2 separate regions of the Homo sapiens genome follow, and region 1 is linked to region 2. Evidence: promoter capture Hi-C in human tissues and cell types (Jung and others, 2019). All regions are on one chromosome and are shown on one strand. The core of a region is centred on a gene start or on the middle of the fragment in contact, and the rest is flanking DNA. Distances in the headings are between cores, read along the strand shown. Region 1 has its middle 220 kb from the start of BMP7-AS1. Region 2 holds the start of BMP7 (bone morphogenetic protein 7).

Evidence for each region. The method cuts DNA at HindIII sites, captures the fragments that hold promoters and counts their contacts. A contact is called where the count stands out against the background at its distance.
Region 1: a contact is called between a fragment that was not itself captured here and the fragment with the promoter of BMP7 in region 2, in 1 of the 25 tissues and cell types used here (mesendoderm cells).

The regions. Positions count from the first base shown.
Region 1 is chr20:56,996,028-56,999,886 of GRCh38, forward strand. No RefSeq gene overlaps it. Among named protein-coding and RNA genes, the nearest start is that of BMP7-AS1, 220 kb to the right of the region's middle. The HindIII fragment of the contact is 6,874 bases long and covers 1-3,859 here.
Region 2 is chr20:57,263,655-57,267,915 of GRCh38, forward strand. BMP7 (bone morphogenetic protein 7) reads right to left here and starts at 2,987. Exons shown (of 7, transcript NM_001719.3): 1 at 2,051-2,987. The coding sequence starts at 2,468. It overlaps LOC112268270 (translation initiation factor IF-2-like), which reads left to right and starts at 2,786. Exons shown (of 2, transcript NR_171651.1): 1 at 2,786-2,988; 2 at 3,129-3,633. RefSeq lists an enhancer at 651-1,366, a promoter at 2,475-4,261 and a cis regulatory region at 3,094-3,186. The HindIII fragment of the contact is 13,311 bases long and covers 1-4,261 here.

The DNA of each region.
Region 1 (3,859 bases), core at 1,201-3,700, 270 kb before region 2:
ACAGCCCCGGGCCAGGACTCAGGGCGAAACAACCCTGTTGCTGGCTCCCTGGCTTGGGACAATTTCTAGTTTCCCGAGTCTCAGCTTGGTCTCCGATGGGGAAAGTGTCCCTTCCTCTCAAAGGTCCATTAGCCCAGGGTGCCTTGATTCAGTGAGGAGGGGTCTGGACTAGATTAGGGACACAGAATAAGGAAAATTCCCATATCCCCATTACCAAGAACTCCTACTGCAGGAGAGTACAGCGTGGTGTGACAATCAGGGACTCGGGACCAAGAGGCCTGTAACCGACTGCTATCCGGCCTCTACCTGTGTGGCTTGGGCAAATTGCTTCACCTCCCAGGGCGTCTTTATTTATGAAAGAGAATAAATGTATCCTGATTATAGTGTTGTTGCAAGGAGTAAGCAGGAGGATGTAGCCAAAGCACTTAACACAGTGTTTGGCAAGAACTGTTCAATAAATAAATAATTACTATTGTTATTACTATTATTTCTTGAGCATTTACGTTCTAGGCACCATAGCAAATGTATAGCAATAGTAATAAACAACATTTGATGAAAGCTTTCTTTATGCCAGGCCCTATGCTGAGAGCTTTATATTTATTATTTTCATCATTTTGATCCCCACTATTCTATAAGGTAGGCTATAATTACCTCCAATTTTGATGAGGAAACTGAGGCCCAGAGAGGTTAAGTGACTTGCCCAAGGTCACACAGCCAATAAGGTTCAAAGGTGAGATTAGAACACAAGTCTGTCCACTCCAAATGGCTGTGGGAGTTAAAATAGATATTCAAAGGTGGCCACATGGTGGGGGGCATTGAGATCTAAGGGACAAAAATGATGAGTTCTTCAGTTTAAGATGAGTTACTCAGGTCGCAATGAACGTGAAGATGGAAGTGGCCATTGTGTCCCTTTAGAAGCCTGGGAGTATGGATCAGGAGGCTGCCTGGGAGGTGATATTGCAGCTGCTACAACCTCAGAGAACTGGGAAAACTTGGGGTGCAGGCCAGAGGGAGCGCAGACTGAGGAGCTGAGCTAGTCTCAGGCTGGCAGCCACTTGGGGCCTCCGCAGGCAGGAGAGCAAAAGTGGGAGACCAAGAAGTGGGGCATGAAGCTGAAGAAAGAGGAAGGCTCTGTGAGGGTCCCAAAGGGCCTTGTCAGTGATGCCACAGAGTTTAGCCTTTATCCTGAAAGCCACGGGAAGTCTTGCAAGGAGATTAAGCAGCAAGAGGATCAGGTTGGCATTTAGAAAAATCACTCTCTGGCTGGGAGCAGTGGCTCACAACTGTGATCCCGGCAATTTGAGAGGCCAAGGCAGGAGGATCGCTTGAGCCCAGGAGTTTGAGACCATCCTGGGTAACATAGTGAGACCCGCTCTCCACAAAAAAAAAACAAAAATTAGCCAAGTGGGGTGGCAGCATATGTCTGTAGTCTCAGCTACTTGAGAGGCTGAGGTGGGAGGATCACCTGAGCCCAGGAGGTGGACATTGCAGTGAGCCAAGATTGTGCCAGTGTACTCCAACCTGGACAATAGAGCAAGACCCTGTCTCAAAAAAAAAAAAAGTAGAAAAATCACTCTGGAACCTATCACGTAACCAAAAGCCACCTGTACCCCAAAAACTATTGAAAAAATAATAATTTAAAAAAAGAAAAATCACCCTGTTTGCAGCGTGGAAAATGGATTCAGCTGCCTCCATCTAGTTCTCCAGCCTGTCTTTTAAATATTTTTCACCACAATTAATATACATTCACTGTAACAAATATAAATGGGACAGGAATATGTAACATAAAAAACTCTCACCCTCCAATTCTAATCTTCAAAAGTAATCACTATACTATAAAGCAGTTTTGACACACACAGTTTCAGATTTTCAGCTACACATATAGACGACATGGATACAAATATAAAATTGTCACCTAGCAACTGTTGGGAGAGCCTATCATTTCGGGTGACACCCAGGGTGATGTTTCCCAAATTGCACACCAACCCACTCTGGTGACAACGGGGCCCAGACCAGTTGTTCTTAACCAGGCAATCCAGGGGCATTTGGCAATACCTGGACACATTTTCGTTGTCACAATGCAGGTGCTTGGCAGGAGCTACTGGCATCTAGTGGATCAAGGGTGCTCTGTGAACATCTTATGTATTATAGGATCCCCACAACCAAGTGTCTTCTGGCCCAGATGGCAATAGTGCCAAGGCTGATAAACCCTTGGGATCTTTGAGGGAATTCCATACTGGTGAGATTTGCTAGTTGCAAGGAACAGAAATGCAATTTATTTTTATGGTATCAGGCAGCTCCTGAAATTATCTAGAGGCTGCAGAGCCAGGTTCATGCAGCCAGGGACAATGCCCTTCATCCTGATGTGGAACTGGTCAGGTGATGGCATGGTGCACCGCTGCACCTGCTGAGCACAGATGCTGCACTTTGCCCCAGACTGTTCTCTGGACTCTGCTTCTGGAACCCATTGTAGCCATTGCAGCTGCCACCTCCCCACAGCTTCATCGGTGCTGCCCGGAGCTGCAGCTTTGCACTGGCAGCTTTCACTATGTGTTTGGGATGGGTGCTTCTGATTGGCTGAGTCTAGGTCATGTGTTCATGTCCTAGCTGCAAGGGAGTCTAGTAAAATAAGTTTGCCTCATGTTGAGCTCCTATAGGGAATGGCTCTTTGCCTTATAACGCAGAGAACTCCTCAGACATGGGATGGAGGTTTGGAGGAACCTGACAAAGGGCCAGTCTATCCAGAGACAGGATGTTCAGTAACAGTACCTCAAGCCACACTGAATTTTACTGTGAACCATGTATTGTTTCTCTCCTGTTCAGGTCACTTTCTACCTCCTAGGTAATCTGTCTCTGACTCTTGCTCATCTCTCCTGGTAGCAGAGACAGGCAGGTGTCAGGCTTGGGTCTAGGGTCAGCCACATATCTAGTTAAATACATAATAACTTGTTTTCATGATTTTTCCTCTAATAATCATTTTTAGGCTTTGTTTTCTCCTGAACTGTTCTTTCTTATGAGATCTTAATGCCATGGATATATTGCATATCTCTTTAGGTTGTCTGTTTATCTGTGTTTTATCAATAAAAAGTGTAAGACTTTCTTATCCACTCTCCCTCATCCTCCCCAAACAATATTTGCCCTCCTTGGGGCAATTTTGCCCTGCTGAGACTGCATGGAGAGACAGACCTTATGTTTAGAGTGTCTCCAACTAGCCTAACATCAGACTTAACAGAGGAACCCTCCTAAAAATACAAATCCCTGGCCTTGATCCAGACCTATTGATTCAGAAATATCAAGAGAACAACTTGGGAATCTGCATTTTTAACAAGGGCCTCAGGGGATTCTTATGATCAGATAAGTTTTAGAAATGATCATGTGGGCCAGGAGAGGTGGCTCATGCCTGTAATCCCCGCAATTTGAGAGGCTGAGGTGGAAGGATCCCTTGAGGCCAGAAGTTCAAGATCAGACTGGACAACATAGTAATACCTCATCTCTAAAACAACGAAAATAAATTAGTGGGGAGTGGTGGTGTGCACCTATAGTCCCAGCAACTCAAAAGACTGAGTCAGGAGGATCGCTTGAGCGAAGGAGTTGGAGGCTTCAGTGACCTGTGATTGCACCACTGCACTCCATCGTGGTGACAGAGCGAGACCCTGCTTCAGTGGTGGCTCAAAACCGTGGCTGCGGACTGGAATCACCCAGGAAATTTAAAATTCGATCCATGTTCTGTCCCCTCCCACAGAGATCCTCAATGAATCAGCGAGGGCATGATGACCCTAATAGGCGGTCAGGTGGTTAAGGCTCGGATAGGCTGAGTGGGTCGGGATACTGGCGTTGCAGCTCACCAGCTGGGTGTCCT
Region 2 (4,261 bases), core at 1,737-4,236:
ACAGAAGGGAAGATGCTATAAATCCCCCACCAGAGAAAGGGCCCTGGCTAACCCCAGGCTTCAGGAGGGCGACAGAGCTCTGCGTTCATTATTTATATGTATGTATTTGGAATTTTCCTTTAGTTTTTGGTATAGTTAATAAATACACATTGTTTTAAAAAAATCACAAATACAGAAGTGCAGACGACGAAAAATCAGACCCCACCTCCCACTCCGTAAGCCCCAGCTATGCCCCCGCCTCTCTACCCCTCCAGTAAAATCTCTCTCCAGTTCCTGGTGTCTTCCTCCAGGAGGACACGATGATATACAAGCACACATGCAGCCCACTCATCTGCACCTTGCTTCTTTCCACCTCATACATCTTGGAGATGGTTCTAAATCAGGTCATATGTTGCTGCTTCCTTCTTAACTGGCTGCTTAGTATAATTTAAACTTTTTTGAAGGTATTTTGGCATCTAAACCTCCCACCCCTTGCTCGCTGAAGCTTGGTTCACTAGTTGGATTTAGTTATTATTAAGTACAGACAATGGCCTCCCGGGAACTCCAGGGACCTTATCAGGAGGGGGAAGCATGAAGGCGGATCTGCGCTTCCCCCGCGCCCCCAGTCCACGCCCCAGGTGCCCAGCGTGGGGCTTCAGTATCATTATTTCCATGTTGACACAGCGCCCGTGGGCGTGAGTTTGCTGTCTTGACTTGGTTCGGGTTTTCGCAGCAAGTTACACAAGTAGAATGAAAGCGGCTCAGGAAACAGCGCTATCGGGGTGTGTTATCTCGGAAACCAAATATTTGATCATCAGTCCCGCAGCGCGCTGGCGCTGCCGGGGGGTTAGTTTGAGCAAGTCTGGAGAATGTGCGCGCACATATGGAGGGGGAGCTCCCCGGCCCTCGCTGCAGCCCCAGGCTCGCGTCGCCGGGGTCGTCGCGGCTCCAGTCGGAAACCGGGACCCCCAGCCGCCCCCGCGGCGTCAGCTCTGAGATCCCGCGCAACCCAATCGCCAAAACCTGTGGTTTGCGCGCCACACGTGGTAAATGCTGAAAATAGATTCTGCCGGCCCGGGACCTACCACTAAATACTTAAAATAGAAGACTAGCGGCAGGGCACAGTGGCTCACGCCTGTAATCCCAGCACCACTTTGGGAGGCTGAGGCGGGAGGATCACCTGAGATCGGGAGTTCGAGACCAGCCTGCCTAACATGGAGAAACCCTGTCTCTACTAAAAATACAAAATTAGCCAGGCATGGTGGCGCATGCCTGTAATCCCAGCTACTCGGGAGGCTGAGGCACGAGAATCGCTTGAACCCGGGAGGCAGAGGTTGCGGTGAGCAGAGATCGCGCCATTGCACTCCAGACTGGGCGACAAGAGTGAAACTCCGTCTCAAAAAAAAAAAAAAAGAAAAGAAAAGAAAAAAAAAGAAAAAAGAAAAAAATAAACAAAGAAAGAAAACAAAGAAAATTAGCAATGGCACCGTTTCTTCCCCAGCTCCAGCCAAGAGAGAATGGGGCATCCGGCGGCCCGGAGAGGGGCCCCAAGGCGCTCGGAGCGCGCGGTACGCTAAGGCGGGCGCACCACGAGGGGACAGGTAGGGCTTGACAGGGAGGGTAAGGGGGTGCGACGGCCGCGATGCCAGAGCCAGGCAGGGCTGAGAGGGGCCCAGGAAGGGCGGCAAGGCAGCCTCGCCGGGAAGGGCCCTTTACATCCAGGTAGCGCGAGCCGCGCCGGCCCGGGACAGCTCACATGACCGAGCCCCGCGCTTTGAACGGCCCTTGCCTCCAGCCCCAGAGATGCGGCCGGCGGCGTAACATGGAGGGGACTTCGGAGGATCCCTCCTTCCCAGTAACCCCTACAGGCTCACCGAACCCAGCGCGCCCGACCTGGGGGCGCACACAGCTTGGGAGTCATAGGGCTGTGGGTGGGAGACCCTCGGGCAGGCACTGCGATTTCAGCCAGGAGCGGAAAGCTGGGCGGGCTGCATAGAAGAAGCGGCTCCCTCCCTCCCAGTCTCAAAGTGCCCCCGAAAGGAGACGCGTACCCTCGCCTGCCCTTACTCACCGAGGTTGACGAAGCTCATGACCATGTCGGCGTCGGTGAGGAAATGGCTATCTTGCAGGCTGGCCAGAGGGGGGCCCTGGGTACTGAAGACGGCCTTGTAGGGGTAGGAGAAGCCCTGGCCGCCGGGCCCGCCGCCCTCCTCCACCGCCATGGCGTTGTACAGGTCCAGCATGAACATGGGTGCCGAGTTGTGCTTGCCCTGGAGGTGCGGGCGCGGGCGGTGGGGCAAGCCCAAAATGGAGAGGATCTCGCGCTGCATCTCCCGCCGCTCCTGGCTGCGGAGGCGCCGGTGGATGAAGCTCGAGTGCACCTCGTTGTCCAGGCTGAAGTCGGCCAGGGCGGAGCGCAGCAGGAACAGGGGTGCCCAGAGCGCCACGAAGCTGTGCGGCGCCGCAGCTCGCAGTGAGCGCACGTGCATCGCGCCGGCTCTACGCGCTACCCGGGCTCCGGGCTCCGGGCCCGCACCGCCCCAGGTGGCAGAGGGGGCAGGCGGCCGTCCGCGCCGCTCGGTCACTTGCTGCAGACGGGCCCCGCTGCGCCCGCGCCAGACATGGCCCCTCCCCGGCCGGCCGCGCTCTGCCCGGACCCCCGCCCCCTGCTCGGTGCTGGCCCCGGGCCCCTCGCCCCGCACTCGCCCGGGCGCACCGCAGGGCTTGGAAAGCAGCCCCGGCGAACGAAAAGGCGAGTGAGGAGGCGGGCGCGGGTGGGAGGAGCAGCCAGCAAGCCTAGGAGTCCAGAGAGCCAACGCCGGGGAGGCAGCGAGGAGGCAGGCGGGCGGGCGAGCGCTCCTTCTTCCCGCTCCTCTGGCGCTCTCGCCCTCGGGCGGCGGCAACCCACCCTCTTCCAACCTCCGGCGCGGATAGCAGGGGCCCCGGGGCGCTCTCCCAGCCTTGTGCGCCCTGGATCGCACAAGAGGCCGCCTCGGGAGCGCCAGAGTGGTACGCGCTGGGGCCTGGGCGGAGGAGGAGGAGGAGGAGGACGGGCTTCGAGGGGCCCCTCCCGCGCCGGCGGCCTCCCACCTGCCCTCGGCCCCGCCCTCCCCCCAGCTGTGCCCAGTGGGTTCATTCATTCCCTCTAGAGCGCTCGACAAATGTTTACTGAGTGCCCACGGGGTGCCTAGAGCCTGGCGGGACGTCGCGGGGATGCGGCTGGAGGAATCGGAGCCGGCCCTGCCCTCTCGGCACTCGCGGTCCGGACCAGGAAGGCGGCCCGAGCAGGACGGGTGGGCTGCGGACCGCGGTGGGAAAAGTTGGGGGAGCGCGGAGGTGGCGCGGAAATAGAAGGCTTCCTGGAAGCGGTGACCCTTGAGCCGGTCTTGCCCCTCAGTCCCTGTATCCTTTTAAGCCAGCCACGCTGACCCCTCCGCGCCTCCCTGAAGCCGTTGCCAGCCTGTCTCTGCGCTCGCCATTCCCTCCGCCTGGACCTCTCCCCACTCACCACCTCCCGCCCCCATCAGACGCTGCTTTCTCCTCCCAGAGACCTCCAAGACCTGCCAAGCTGAGGTTGTTTCCTCGCCTCGCCCCTCGCACGTTTGTTTTCTTTCCTGTAGTTTCTCTTGCTGTCTGGAATTGCTGTTTGAGTTACTCCGTGCCTTCTTTATTGCCTTCTTACCCCCGCTAGACACCCAGAGCACTGGGGCCCGGATCAGCGATCTTCTCCGCACCTCTGGTACCCGCAGTGCCTTGAACCCAGCGCCTGGTAGCCACTGTAGCTGCGCAGTCACGATTTGTTGAGTGAATAAGTGAACTGCGTGTGAGCTGGGGGGGTTCTTCCCACCTCCTCCTCTTCGGGGCCCTGTATCTTTCCAGCCACCCCTCAGCCTGAGACCAGACACCCCAGCCCCACCACTAGGGCTTCCCATCAGCCCTCCTCGTGGCAGTGCCTGGGGAGCCAGCCGCTGGTCTTCACATCCTCTTCCCCTCCAAGGGTCTGTGCCTGAGACCTCCCCATCGGCCTCCTCTCCTGTCTCTCCTCATCCATTCATCCCTCAATCAATACCGAGCCATGCACGCTGTCACAGGGAGTCCCCAGACCACTCAGAACCCACCGGTCCCTCTGCCGGTGTGGGATCTCAAGGGAATTACTGCACCCAGAGTGGCAGTGAGGGCAGCGGGGTAAAAGTTCATCCTGTCTCCTTCCCCTCCTGGGGCTGGGTGAGAGAGTGGGTCCCCAGAGGGCCTTTGGGATGAACTGGGAAGGGCTGAGGTTGGG